Regions from separate parts of the Homo sapiens genome. Here regions 1, 3 and 4 are each linked to region 2. The links are contacts of gene promoters, found by promoter capture Hi-C in human tissues and cell types (Jung and others, 2019). All regions are on one chromosome and are shown on one strand. The core of a region is centred on a gene start or on the middle of the fragment in contact, and the rest is flanking DNA. Distances in the headings are between cores, read along the strand shown.

What was found. Contacts are between HindIII fragments. The study calls those that stand out against the background at their distance.
Region 1: a contact is called between a fragment that was not itself captured here and the fragment with the promoter of SNRNP70 in region 2, in 2 of the 25 tissues and cell types used here (dorsolateral prefrontal cortex and liver).
Region 3: a contact is called between a fragment that was not itself captured here and the fragment with the promoter of SNRNP70 in region 2, in 1 of the 25 tissues and cell types used here (dorsolateral prefrontal cortex).
Region 4: a contact is called between the fragment with the promoter of FLT3LG here and the fragment with the promoter of SNRNP70 in region 2, in 1 of the 25 tissues and cell types used here (adrenal gland).

The regions. Positions count from the first base shown.
Region 1 is chr19:49,399,625-49,402,553 of GRCh38, reverse strand. All of the region lies in intron 9 of KASH5 (KASH domain containing 5), which reads right to left. Among named protein-coding and RNA genes, the nearest start is that of KASH5, 13 kb to the right of the region's middle. The HindIII fragment of the contact is 8,336 bases long and covers 1-2,929 here.
Region 2 is chr19:49,084,189-49,087,161 of GRCh38, reverse strand. SNRNP70 (small nuclear ribonucleoprotein U1 subunit 70) reads right to left here and starts at 1,711. Exons shown (of 10, transcript NM_003089.6): 1 at 1,526-1,711; 2 at 601-757. The coding sequence starts at 747. RefSeq lists enhancers at 1,526-1,615, 1,966-2,035. The HindIII fragment of the contact is 18,802 bases long and covers 1-2,973 here.
Region 3 is chr19:48,727,117-48,730,086 of GRCh38, reverse strand. RASIP1 (Ras interacting protein 1) reads left to right here. Exons shown (of 12, transcript NM_017805.3): 5 at 497-1,150; 6 at 2,657-2,694; 7 at 2,929-2,970. It overlaps LOC124904737 (a long non-coding RNA gene), which reads right to left and starts at 1,943. Exons shown (of 2, transcript XR_007067286.1): 1 at 1,719-1,943. The HindIII fragment of the contact is 9,581 bases long and covers 1-2,970 here.
Region 4 is chr19:49,472,922-49,475,621 of GRCh38, reverse strand. FLT3LG (fms related receptor tyrosine kinase 3 ligand) reads right to left here and starts at 1,407. Exons shown (of 9, transcript NM_001459.4): 1 at 1,341-1,407; 2 at 950-1,019. The coding sequence starts at 982. RefSeq lists a silencer at 949-1,028. The HindIII fragment of the contact is 13,748 bases long and covers 1-2,700 here.

The DNA.
Region 1 (2,929 bases), core at 130-2,629, 320 kb before region 2:
TATATTTTTAGTAGAGGTGGGGTTTCACCATGTTGGTCAGGCTGGTTTCGAACTCCTGACCTCAAATGATCCACCCATCTCGGCCTCCCAAGATGCTGGGATTACAAGCGTGAGCCACTGTGCCTGGCCTTTCATTCTTTTATTTACTTTTTTTGTTTTTTTTTGTTTTATAGAGACGGGCTCTCACTATGTTGCCTAGGTTGGTCTCGAACTCCTGGCCTAGGCAATCTTGCTTTGGCCTCCCAAAGTGTTGGGATTACAGGTGTGAGCCACCATGCCCAGCCGGAAAGTTTTTCTTTTCCTTTTTTTTTTGAGACTGAGTCTTGCTCTGTCGCCCAGACTGGAGTACACTGGTACCATCTTGGCTCACTGCAACCTCTGCCTCCTGGGTTCAAGCGATTCTCCTGCCTCAGCCTCCCGAGTAGCTGGGATTACAGGTGTGTGCCACCACACCCGGCTGATTTTTTTATTTTTAGTAGAGATGGGGCTTCACCGTGTTGGCCAGGCTGGTCTCGAACTCCTGATCTCAGGTGATCCACCCACCTCGGCCTCCCAAAGTGCTGGGATTACAGGCGTGAGCCACTGCGCCTGGCAACTTTTTCATTCTTAAAAAGGGATGTTCTGAAAGAAACTGTCACATCCTGCTGCATTCCATGTCTCACATGGTACAGCCATCCTGCTGTGAGATTCCCATTGCCCCAAGGGGGTGAGTTTTCATGGAAGAGCCAGAAAATAGCAGAAAGATTTTGGATTTCAGTGTAAAAAACACTGCACATGTAGGACAAAGATATTTTTTGGGAATACATGATCTGTCTGGACTAGGCAGAGATCCTTAGAGCTGGGGGAGGAATGCAGGACAGACAGAGAAGAGAATAGGCTGAAAATGAGCCCAGAGTTTTCCCCTAACCCAGGGCTAGCTATGAGGGGTGGAGGGTATGGATGGAGAACCGCAGAGCCCTGGAAGTCTTGTGATCTGAGAGGCCTTGCGTGTACTTCCCAGAGCACTCTCAGAATCATCACGGTGTGAGAATAATAGAGATGCTACTTTCTTGTGAAAGCAAAGAGGCCTCACTGGTGGGTCCTCTCCAGACCTCTGCCCACCCCAGCCCTGTGTCCTCCAGTCTGTCAAGGCCTGGGTGGGGTTTGGGATCCTTCAGGGAAATGAGTGACGGACAGGGACTTTGCTAACAGCTCAGGGAGAACAGAGGAATCTCTCTCCTGTTTCTCTTTCCCCAGAGAAGCCACATCTCCCCACCATGAGCACCCACCCTGGCCTGGGGAAATGAGGCAGGGGCTTTGGGCAGTGACCCCAGCCTCTTCCCTTTCACAGGAAAGTAGCCAAATCACCTCCCTGGCTCTGGAAGGGTGTGGAAGTGGTGGAGTAAGAGTCCCAGCCCAGATAAGGGATCACCACCAGAAGATGAAGAAGATGGTATGTCCAGAGATCCAAAGGCAATGCGGGCCTCACAGTAGATGCCAGCACACAGTGGTGACAAACGCTTGGACAAAACCCATCAATCTCATGAACAGCAGAGAGGAGAAACATTGAGTGAGGATCAGCAGCCTCCTAGAGCACTAGGCTCCTGCATCAGTCTCCTGCAACTTAGATACCACCTTGAGGTCGGGGGTGGTGACAGGTTTCATTGTCAATTGATGAGTTTGTTTCAATCTAAAAAAAATTAGGTGGGCCCAGAATGAACTAAGATGATGTTTTTCTGTCTTGGATGGAACGGGGCTTGAATTAAATGTGAAGCTGAACTCAGTCTCTTCATATTGTTTGCTAGTCCCTCAGTGAAATGCTGTCAATCCTCAAAACAAGCCTACTGAACAGATACCCTTCTTCCAGTTCTTTGAAAATAAAAGTAGGTCAGGTGTGGTGGCTCATGTCTGTAATCCCAGCATTTTGGGAGGCTGAGGTGGGCAGATCACCTGAGGTCGGGAGTTTGAGACCAGCCTGACCAACATGGAAAAACCCCGTCTCTACTAAAACAAACAAACCAACCAACCAACAAAAAAACAAAATTAGCCAGGTGTGGTGGCACATGCCTGTAATCCCAGCTACTTGGGAGGCTGAGGCAGAAGAATCACTTGAACCGGGAGACGGTGGTTGCCATGAGGTAAGATCGCGCCATTCCACTCCAGCCTGGGCAACAAGAATGAAACTCTGTCTCAAAAAAAAAAAAAAGAAAAAAAAAAAAAAGAAACTAAAAGTAAAGGCTTGAGAAGGAGAAGTCACATGCTTAAAGGTTGCCTATTGTGTAAGTGGCGGAGATGGGATTTGAACTCAAGGTTGACTTCAAATCCAATTTTTTTTTTTTTTTTTTTTTTGAGAGGCTCTCGCTCTGTCATCCAGGCTGGAATGCCATGATGCAATCTTGGCTCACTGCAACCTCTGTCTCCCGGGCTCGTGCAGTCTTTCCACCTCAGCCTCCTGAGTGGCTGGACTACAGGTGCACACTACCATGCCTGGCTTATTTTTCTATTTTTTGTAGAGGCAAGGTTTTGCCATGTTGCCCGGGATGGTCTCGAACTCCTAGGCTAAAGGGGTCCACCCAGCTAGGCCTCCCGAAGTGCTGGGATTCCAGGCATGAGCCACTGTGCCTGGCTGTTTTATTCACTGTAAAAAATACTAATATAGAAACAATGCTAGATAACTTTTAGTGAGCACATCCTATGTGTCCTACCTTGTGCCCAAGACTTTGCAAGTATCCTTCGGTTGAAGTCTCACACAAACCACTGAGGCAGATGCCATTGTTTTGTTCATCTTTATAGGTGAGGCAACTGAGGCACAGAGAAGGGAGGCACTGGTCCACTCTTATGTAGGTGGCCTCAGCCTGAAGCCATGTAGGCTGACCCCATGCCTCACACTCTTGTAAACCACGGCTGTTCTCACAGTGTGATATAACCTCAGGGACATTCCCACACTACT
Region 2 (2,973 bases), core at 462-2,961:
GTTGCTCAGGATGGAGTGCAGTGGCGCGATCTCGGCTCATTGCAACCTCCGCCTCCTGGGTTCAAGTGATTCCCGTGCCTCAGCCTCCCAAGTAGCTGGAATTACAGGCACCATGTCCGGCTAATTTTTGTTATTTTTAGCAGAGACGTGGTTTCACCATGTTGGCCAGGCTGGTCTTCAACTCCTCACCTCAAGTGATCCGCCTGCCTCGGTCTCCCAAAGTACTGGGATTACAGGCGTGAGCCACCGTACCGGGCCACAACCCCACTTAAAAAAAAAATTTTTTTTTTGAGAGACGAAGTCCTGCTCTGTCACCCAGGCCGGAGTATAGTGGCACAATCACAAAGCACTCCAGCCTCCGACTCCTGGGCTCAAGCAATCCTCCCACCTCAGCCTCCTGAGTAGCTGAGACTACAGACGCACTCGACCACACCCGACACCCGGCTCCAACCCCATTTAAAACAGAGAAACTGAGGATCACAAAGGTTAAGCCCCTCGCTTAAATCACGCAGCTGGCAAAATGGCCAGAAGCTGGACTCGCAAATCCAACCCGTTGCTCCCCAGAACCCAAACCATTCCTGGCCTGCTCAGTGAACTCACCTCAAACTCTCGAATGTACGGCGCAATGCCACAATAAGGTTGATTGTGGTGTTTTTCATGTGGCAGTTTCTCCAGGGGTGGCAGGTATGGAATAGGGTCACGGGGGGCAAAGAGGGCCAGAAGGTTGGGCGGCAGGAACTGGGTCATCTTGCCAAGTCTGAGAGCAGAAGCAGGACAGCCTTAGGTTAGATCGGGTCTGCACAGAGAAAGCCCCTGTTACTCCTTGACTCTCAAAATAAGAAAGACAGGAGAAAAGTCTCGGAATTAAAACAGGCTCTGTAAGGGCAGAGAACAGTCCTGTGTTGCGGAGAAAAGGGTACGTCTTGGTGGGGGTGGAGGTGAAAGGCCGGTAAAGAAAACAAAAATAACGGCTGGAAAAGGGTTCCTGAAGAGTGAAGTCTCAGAGTCCTCTGACACGAGCTGTGGGGCGGAGAGGTTCCCTGGGAATTTCTGGGGAAATCAAGGACCCGAGGAGGGAGGCCCAGAGCAGCTGTGGCTGCTCGTCCCGTGCCGTGGAGGGCAAATTACGAGATGCAGTTTGCAGGGTCCTGGGGATCGGAAGTTTCCAAGCAAAGAAAGAGAAACATAAGGAGCGAAGCCCCAAAACCAAGTGCTTGTGGGTAACAGACCTGGACCCCGCAAAAAGCGAAAGGAATTATGGGTAAGGGTCCAGGACAACATAGACAAACGAAAAAGAAAAAAGGCCACACACCGCAAGGGCCTGTGGGTAGGGAACCACGAGGGCGCTGTGGGAAGCGGGCGTGGGTGCCCAGAGATTTCGGGGTCCGGGAAAGGGATGCAGAAGGGACCTGTGGCGGGGACGCGGGAAAGGGGCCTGGCCGCGGGGAAGAGGACCGGGCCCACCGCTGGGGCTTCTGGGTAGCGGCCCCGCACCCCGTCGGGCCACTCAGTCACACTCACTCACCGCGTAGCGCCCTCCTCGCTCTGGCGTCTGTCCGGAGGCTCGCGGCGGCTGCGGCAGCCCCTCAGCAACAACAACTCCTGCTTCGGCTTCCACTCCGGGGGCGTCCACGTCCGTCTGATTCCGTCGCCCGCTAAGCGAGCGCACCAGGCCGCTGCTCAGCCACCCGCGCGGCCTCCGATAGCGACTGGAGCAGGGGGTGGGTCCCGGCCGCAAATCCCTCCGCCGTCCTCACTGCGCACGCGCCGTGCGGTGCCAACAACAACCCACACACTAGGACCCGGCGCTGCCGCGGGCACAGCGCACGCGCGAGGTCACTACCCCGCCTTTGGGCACCTTGAGTACCTCAGCCGCGGGGGGCTGGCTTCTGCACTGCGCGCGCGCGCTTGCCCCAAGCCGCCCCTCCACCTCCCGCTTTCCGCGCCGAACCGCCTATGTCCGCGAGACTCTCCCTGATGCTCCGCCCCTTTCCGATCACACTTCCCGGATCTTTCGCGCATGCGTTTTGCGTAGAGAACTGTAACGTACCTCTCCGCCGCCTAGCAAAGAGTCCCTAGGTGAACAGCCTGATTGCGTTGATGTCTAATCTATTCAATCAATAACTATTCATCGAGCATCTCGTGTGTGCTAGGCACTGTCTGGGCTTTGGGGGTACAGCACGTGATTAAAGCAAAGTCTTCTGCTGCTAGGGCTTACATTGTACTGGGAGAGACAATAAAAGCATTTAACTGAATAAAGATAATTTGAGGCCAGGCGCGGTGGATCACGCCTGTAATCCCAGAACTTTTGGGAGGCTGAGGCGGGCAGATCACCTGAGGTCAGGAGTGTGAGACCAACCTGACCAACATGGTGAAAGCCCGTCTCTACTAAAAATACAAAAATTAGCCGGGCGTGGCCGTGCGCGCCTGTAAGCCCGGTTACTCTGGAGGCTGAGGCGGGAGAATCGCTTGAACTCGGGAGGCGGAGGTTGCAGTGAGCCGAGGTCGTGCCATTGCACTCCAGCCTGGGCGACAGAGCGACTCCGTCTCAAAAGTAAATAAATAAATAAATAATAAAAGATAATTTGAGATAGTGGCCAGCATAATGAAGAACGATGGAGCAGAATAAAGGGATGGGAAGTGAGAGCGAGGCTGTTTTAGAAAGGGTGATAATGGAAGGCCCCTCTGAAGAGGTAACATTTGAATAAAGGACAGATAGAAGCGAGATCTGGGGTGGGGCCGGGGGGGCGGTGTTTAACAGTAAGTGCAAAGGTCCTGAACTGAGACCAGATGGCAGGAATCTCAGGTTGTTGGCCATGAGATCAGAGAGCTGGCACTTGTTATTTAGAGCCCTGTTCTTAAGTATTGTATCTTAAGTTTTGTGGATGGATTCAATAGCCTGTTTAATAACTACAGAAATTATTGCAAATTAAAATGACTAATTTTATGTTTCAAGAAAAAGGCCGAGTGCAG
Region 3 (2,970 bases), core at 269-2,768, 360 kb after region 2:
TGGCGTTGCGGGTGCTTAGAGAGTCCTTTGAGATCCAGATCTCCTTGGAGTGTCTATTCAAAGTCGGTGGGGGGCCGGGCGCGATAGTTCACGCCTGTAATCCCAGCACTTCGGGAGGCCGAGGTAGGTGGATCACCTGAGATCAGGAGTTTAAGACCAGCCTGGCCAACATGGTGAAACCCTTTCCCTACTAAAAATACAAAAATTAGCCGGGTGTGGTGGCAGGCGCCTGTACTCCCAGCTACTCAACAGACTGAGGCAGGAGAATTGCTTGAACTCAGGAGGCAGAGGTTGCAGTGAGCCGAGATCGTGCCACTGGACTCCAGCCTGGAGGACAGAGCGAGACTCCATCTCAAAAAAAAAAAAAAAAAAAAAAAGAAGAAGAAGGAAAAAAAAAGTTGGTGGGAATAGAAAAGTTGTTGTAGAAAACAGAGAGAACAGATCTGAAGATATGGATTGAAGTGATGTCCTTAGTGCATCCTCGTTTCCCCTCCAGGACTTTGTGGTGTATGTGATGACGCGAGAGCAGCACGTGTTTGGGCGAGGTGGGAACTCGTCTGGCCGCGGGGGGTCCCCGGCTCCCTATGTGGACACCTTCCTCAACGCCCCGGACATCCTGCCGCGTCACTGCACAGTGCGCGCGGGCCCTGAGCACCCGGCCATGGTGCGCCCGTCCCGGGGCGCCCCAGTCACGCACAACGGGTGCCTCCTGCTGCGGGAGGCTGAGCTGCACCCGGGCGACCTCCTGGGGCTGGGCGAGCACTTCCTGTTCATGTACAAGGACCCCCGCACTGGGGGCTCGGGGCCTGCGAGGCCGCCGTGGCTGCCCGCGCGCCCCGGGGCCACGCCGCCAGGCCCTGGCTGGGCCTTCTCCTGTCGCCTGTGCGGCCGCGGCCTGCAGGAGCGCGGCGAGGCACTGGCCGCCTACCTGGACGGCCGTGAGCCAGTCCTGCGCTTCCGGCCGCGCGAGGAGGAGGCGCTGCTGGGCGAGATCGTGCGCGCCGCAGCCGCCGGCTCGGGAGACCTGCCGCCCCTCGGGCCCGCCACGCTGCTGGCGCTGTGCGTGCAGCATTCCGCCCGTGAGCTGGAGCTGGGCCACCTGCCACGACTGCTGGGCCGCCTGGCCCGGCTCATCAAGGAGGCCGTCTGGGTGAGCGCCCCCCAATCGCCGTCCAGCCCCACCAGCGCCCCAAGTCCCTTCTCCAGCCTCCCTTCCCTACCTTCAACCCTTTTCATAGCTGGGCTGGATACTACTGTTCCCATGACGCCTCGGGAAGGATTTGGGGTTTTGGGTTTTGTTTGTTTGTTTGTTTGCTTTTGTTTTTGAGACGGAGTCTCGCTCTGTTACCCAGGCTGGAGTGCAGTGGCGGTCTTGGTTCACTGCAACCTCTACCTCCGGGGTTCAAATGATTCTTCTGCCTCAGCCTCCCGAGTAGCTGGGATTGCAGGCGCCTGCCAGCACGCCCGGCTAATTTTTTGTATTTTTAGTAAGACGGGGTTTCACCATATTGGCCAGGCTTGTCTGGAACTCCTGACCTCGTGGTTCGCCCGCCTCGGCCTCCCAAAGTGCTGGGATTACAGGTGTGAGCCACCACACCCGGTGTTTTGGGGTTATTAAGCAAGGGGCCCCCCCATAGAATGCTGGGAGATGTAGATCCACTGCACTTAGAGGGAAGCCCAAACTCACCTTAGGAGAGCTCACCTAAGCACGAACTCACCTTAGGAAGAAACCATTATGGGAGATGGTGGGGGAGAGATCCCACTGGATGAGAAGTTGACAGAGATCAGTGTGAGAATTCACCGCAGCCCATTGGGCTTGGAGCTTGGATAGCAGTGAGCGAGTTCATTCTTGGAGGCGAGGAAGCACAAATCCACTGGACCTACAGATGGAAGTTCCAGAAAGAAACCATTCAGAGTGGGGGAAACGTTCCATCCTATTGAGCTAGGGCCTAACCAGAGAGGTTTAAGGAGTTTCTTGGGGGTAAAAATTGGAGAAGAGGACCTGAAGGAGCTAGATCACTCATAATCATAGGGTGTGTATGTTTTAAAAAGTAAGGAGAGACCATTCTAAAGCTTGTGGGATTAGAATTTGTCTCAAGAGCCAGGCGTGGTGGCTCATGCCTGTAATCCCGGCACTTTGGGAGGCCGAGGCGGGCAGATCACCTGAAGTCGGGAGATCGAGACCATCCTGGCTAACATGGTGAAACCCCGTCTCTACTAAAAATGCAAAAAATTAGCCGGGCATGGTAGCACATGCCTGTAATCCCAGCTACTTGGGAGGCTGAGGCAGGAGAATCACTTGAACCTGGGAGGCAGAGGTTGCAGTGAGCCAAAATTGAGCCATTGCACCCCAGCCTGGGCAACAACAGGGTAACTCCATCTCAAAAAAAAAAAAAAAAAAAAAGAATCCGTATGAAGAGTGAAGGCCGGTTGCAGTGGCTCATGCCTGTAATCCTAGTTCTTTGGGAGGCCAAGGTGGGAGGATCATTTGAGCTCAGGAGTTGGAGACCACCGGTGGCAACATAGTAAGACCCCATCTCTAAGAAAAGTAGGACCAGTCTCTATGAGAGTTGTGCTTCTATAAAAACCAGGGTATTAACTCTTAAGCCCCTCAGTGGATCCCCCTCACCTTGATTCTGATCTTACTGTTCCACAGGAAAAGATTAAGGAAATTGGAGACCGTCAGCCAGAAAAGTAAGAGAAATTCTGAGCAGAGTGGTCTGGAGGGATGCAGGGGTTGGGTTTTGCGTCTAGTTCTGTGTTCACCCCATGCATGCCCCAGTGCAAGTTTCTGCTTCTCCTTGCGCTCAACTTTTCCAGCTGCGCAATGGGAGTTGGTCTTGCTCTCCCACTTAGACTTAGATCTTGGGGTTTGTAAACTATGATGAGGGTTGGGCAGGGATCACAAATTCCTTCCTCTTTTTCAAGCCACCCTGAGGGGGTCCCCGAGGTGCCCCTGACTCCTGAAGC
Region 4 (2,700 bases), core at 158-2,657, 390 kb before region 2:
CCTGTACTGTTCTGTCTTCCCCGCTCCTCCTTCCCTGGGTGTCCTTCTGCCTCTTCCACACTTTCTGGAGACATGGCCCCATCTCTGCCTGTCTTTCCCGGTTTCTCTCTGCCTCTGGTCCAATGCTGTCCAGTTTGCATCCCCCTCTGCCCCACCCCTCTCTCTCCCCATCTCCCCCACTCTGCTGGTCTCTCTCCAACCACCTCATCTTCACGTCTGGTTTCCTCGCCCGGGTTCCTCCAGCTCTGTCCCTCCCTCTGCCTTCTACACCACTGTTGCCTGCTTCTCTCTTGATCTTGGTCCACGTCCTCTTCATTTGTTCTTGGCTCTGTCCACCTTCCCTCTCCTCTGTCCATCTCCCCCCTTTTCTGTCCATCTCCCCCTCCTCTGTCCATCTCCCCCCTCCTCTGTCTCTCTTCCTCTCCTCTGTCCGTCTCCCTCCTCCTGTCCACCTCCCCCTCCTCTTCATCTCCCTCTCCTCTGTCCATCTCCCCCTCCTGTCCATCTCCCCTCTCCTCTGTCCATACCCCCTCCTCTCCATCTTCCCTCCTGTCCATCTCCCCCACCTCTGTCCATCTCCCCCTTCTCTGTCCATCTCCCTCCTCCTGTCCACCTCCCTCCTCTTTATCTCCCTCTCCTCTGTTCATCTGCCCTCTCCTCTGTCCATCTCCCCCTCCTCTGTCCATCTCCCCGCTCCTGTCCATCTCCCACTCCTCTCTATCTCCCTCTCCTCTATCTCCCCCTCCTCTGTCCATCTCCCCATCCTCTGTCCATCTCCCCCTCCTCTGTCCGTCTCCTCTCCTATCCATCTCCCCTCACATCTGTCCATCTCCCCTCCTATTTCCTCGTCATCTGTCCATCTGTTCTCCCGTCCATCTCCCCTCATCTCTGCCCCATCCTGACATTGTGCCTCCCCTCTCCCCTGATCTTGTCCCTGGGGTTTACGCACTGTTGGGCTCCAGGCTGGCGCCAGCACTGTCATTTCGGCCGGGGGCCCCTCATGCCTCCTGTCGCCGGGTCTTGGAAGGGACAGAAGAACAAGTCTCGGACCCTCATGCCCCAGCCCCTGCCCTGCCCGCCCCTTTGCCTCCCCGCCCCTCCCGCGTCCCATTGATGTGGCTGAGTTTCCGCCCCTTCCTCCCCCAGGCTTCCTGCGTCTGCCCCAGTTACGGTGAAAACTCTTCATCTCCACTTCTAAGAACCTCGACGTCTGGTCCCCAGAACCCTCCCCAGGTTAGGGACCCGGGAACCCAGCCCCCCACCCTCTGCTCCCCCTGCCCCAGGAGTGGGGACCCTGGCTCCGCCCCTTGGGGACCTAGAGTCCAAGTCTCCTCACGCACCAGGCTTGCCCCAGTTGGGTGTGGAAGGGGCCAAGCCGGGTGACAGCCAGAGACCGAAAGTGAAAGGAAATTTTTGGGGGGAGACAGTCAAGGGGTGGAATCTGGGCCCAGGCGGAGCGCGCCCCCTGGTGGTGAGAGGCGGCCGCTCACGCCGCAGATGGCGCGTTCTCCGGACGCCCCGCAGCGGGGGCTGCAGTGGGGCTGACTCCCTGGGTGGCACGCCCAGTGCATGGTGAGCTGGGGCTGGAACCCGGATCTGTCTCTGGGAACTCGCAGTTGCTGTGTCTTACCGTCCTCCGGGCCCCAACTTTGCCCCGCCAAGGCTTGGCACACAGGACTCAGGATGCATCTTGTCACATTGGGCCTGGCAGGTGTCGCCCTAGCACTAGCTTTATCACTGTGGGAGCTTGGCCAGCCCCTTGACCTCTCTAAGCCTCGGCTTCTCCAACTCCAAACTGAGGGGTGAGGTGGTACATGAGACAAAATAGAAGCTCTCTTCCACATCTGTGGATCTCTGAATCTCTGAAGCATTTTTTTTTTTTAGATGGGGTCTCACTCTGTTGCCCAGGCTGGAGTGCAGTGGCACAGTCTCGGCTCACGGCAACCTCCGCCTCCTGGGCTTAAGCAATTCTTGTGCCTCAGGCTCCCAAGTAGCTGGAATTGCAGGTGCGTGCCACCATGCCCGGCTAATTTTTGTATTTTTAGTAGAGACGAGGTTTCACTATGTTGGCCAGGCTGATCTCGAACTCCTGACCTCAGGTGATCAGCCTGCCTCGGCCTCCCAAAATGCTGGGATTACAGGTGTGACCCATCACGCCCATCCTGAATCTCTTGCTCACCCATCTGATCCGTGGCAGACTGTCCTGAAACATCTGCTGCCCCCACCCCCCCAGCAGGAGGATTCGAGGTCCCATCCTGGGGAACTCGGACATGGCCACACTCACTTTGGCCAGTCACATGAGGGTGGAGGTGACAGGTGTCACTTCTGAATGGAAGTCTAAGGGACCGGGGAGTGGATGGTGGAGGATGCATGGAGAGAGCGCCTCTATCAGCCAAGTTTCCTGTGCCACTCGGAGGAGCACAGGGATCCTGCCAGCCCCGGATGAGCACAGGGAGTGTAAGCAACAAACTAATGTTGTGGTTGTGGCCCACGCAGATTCGGGGGTTATGTGTTACTGCAGCAAAGCCTCGCCCGTCCTGGCCTTCATCATCCATTTCCCTTCCCTGATCCCTCTGCCTGCCTCACTTCCTGTTCAGCCTGGGTTAGCTGCCTTGTCGCACCCAATGGTCAGACCTTCCATCTGGCTAGAAAGATTTAAATGAAGCAGAGAGGCAGAGATACAAGCCCCAATAGCTCATG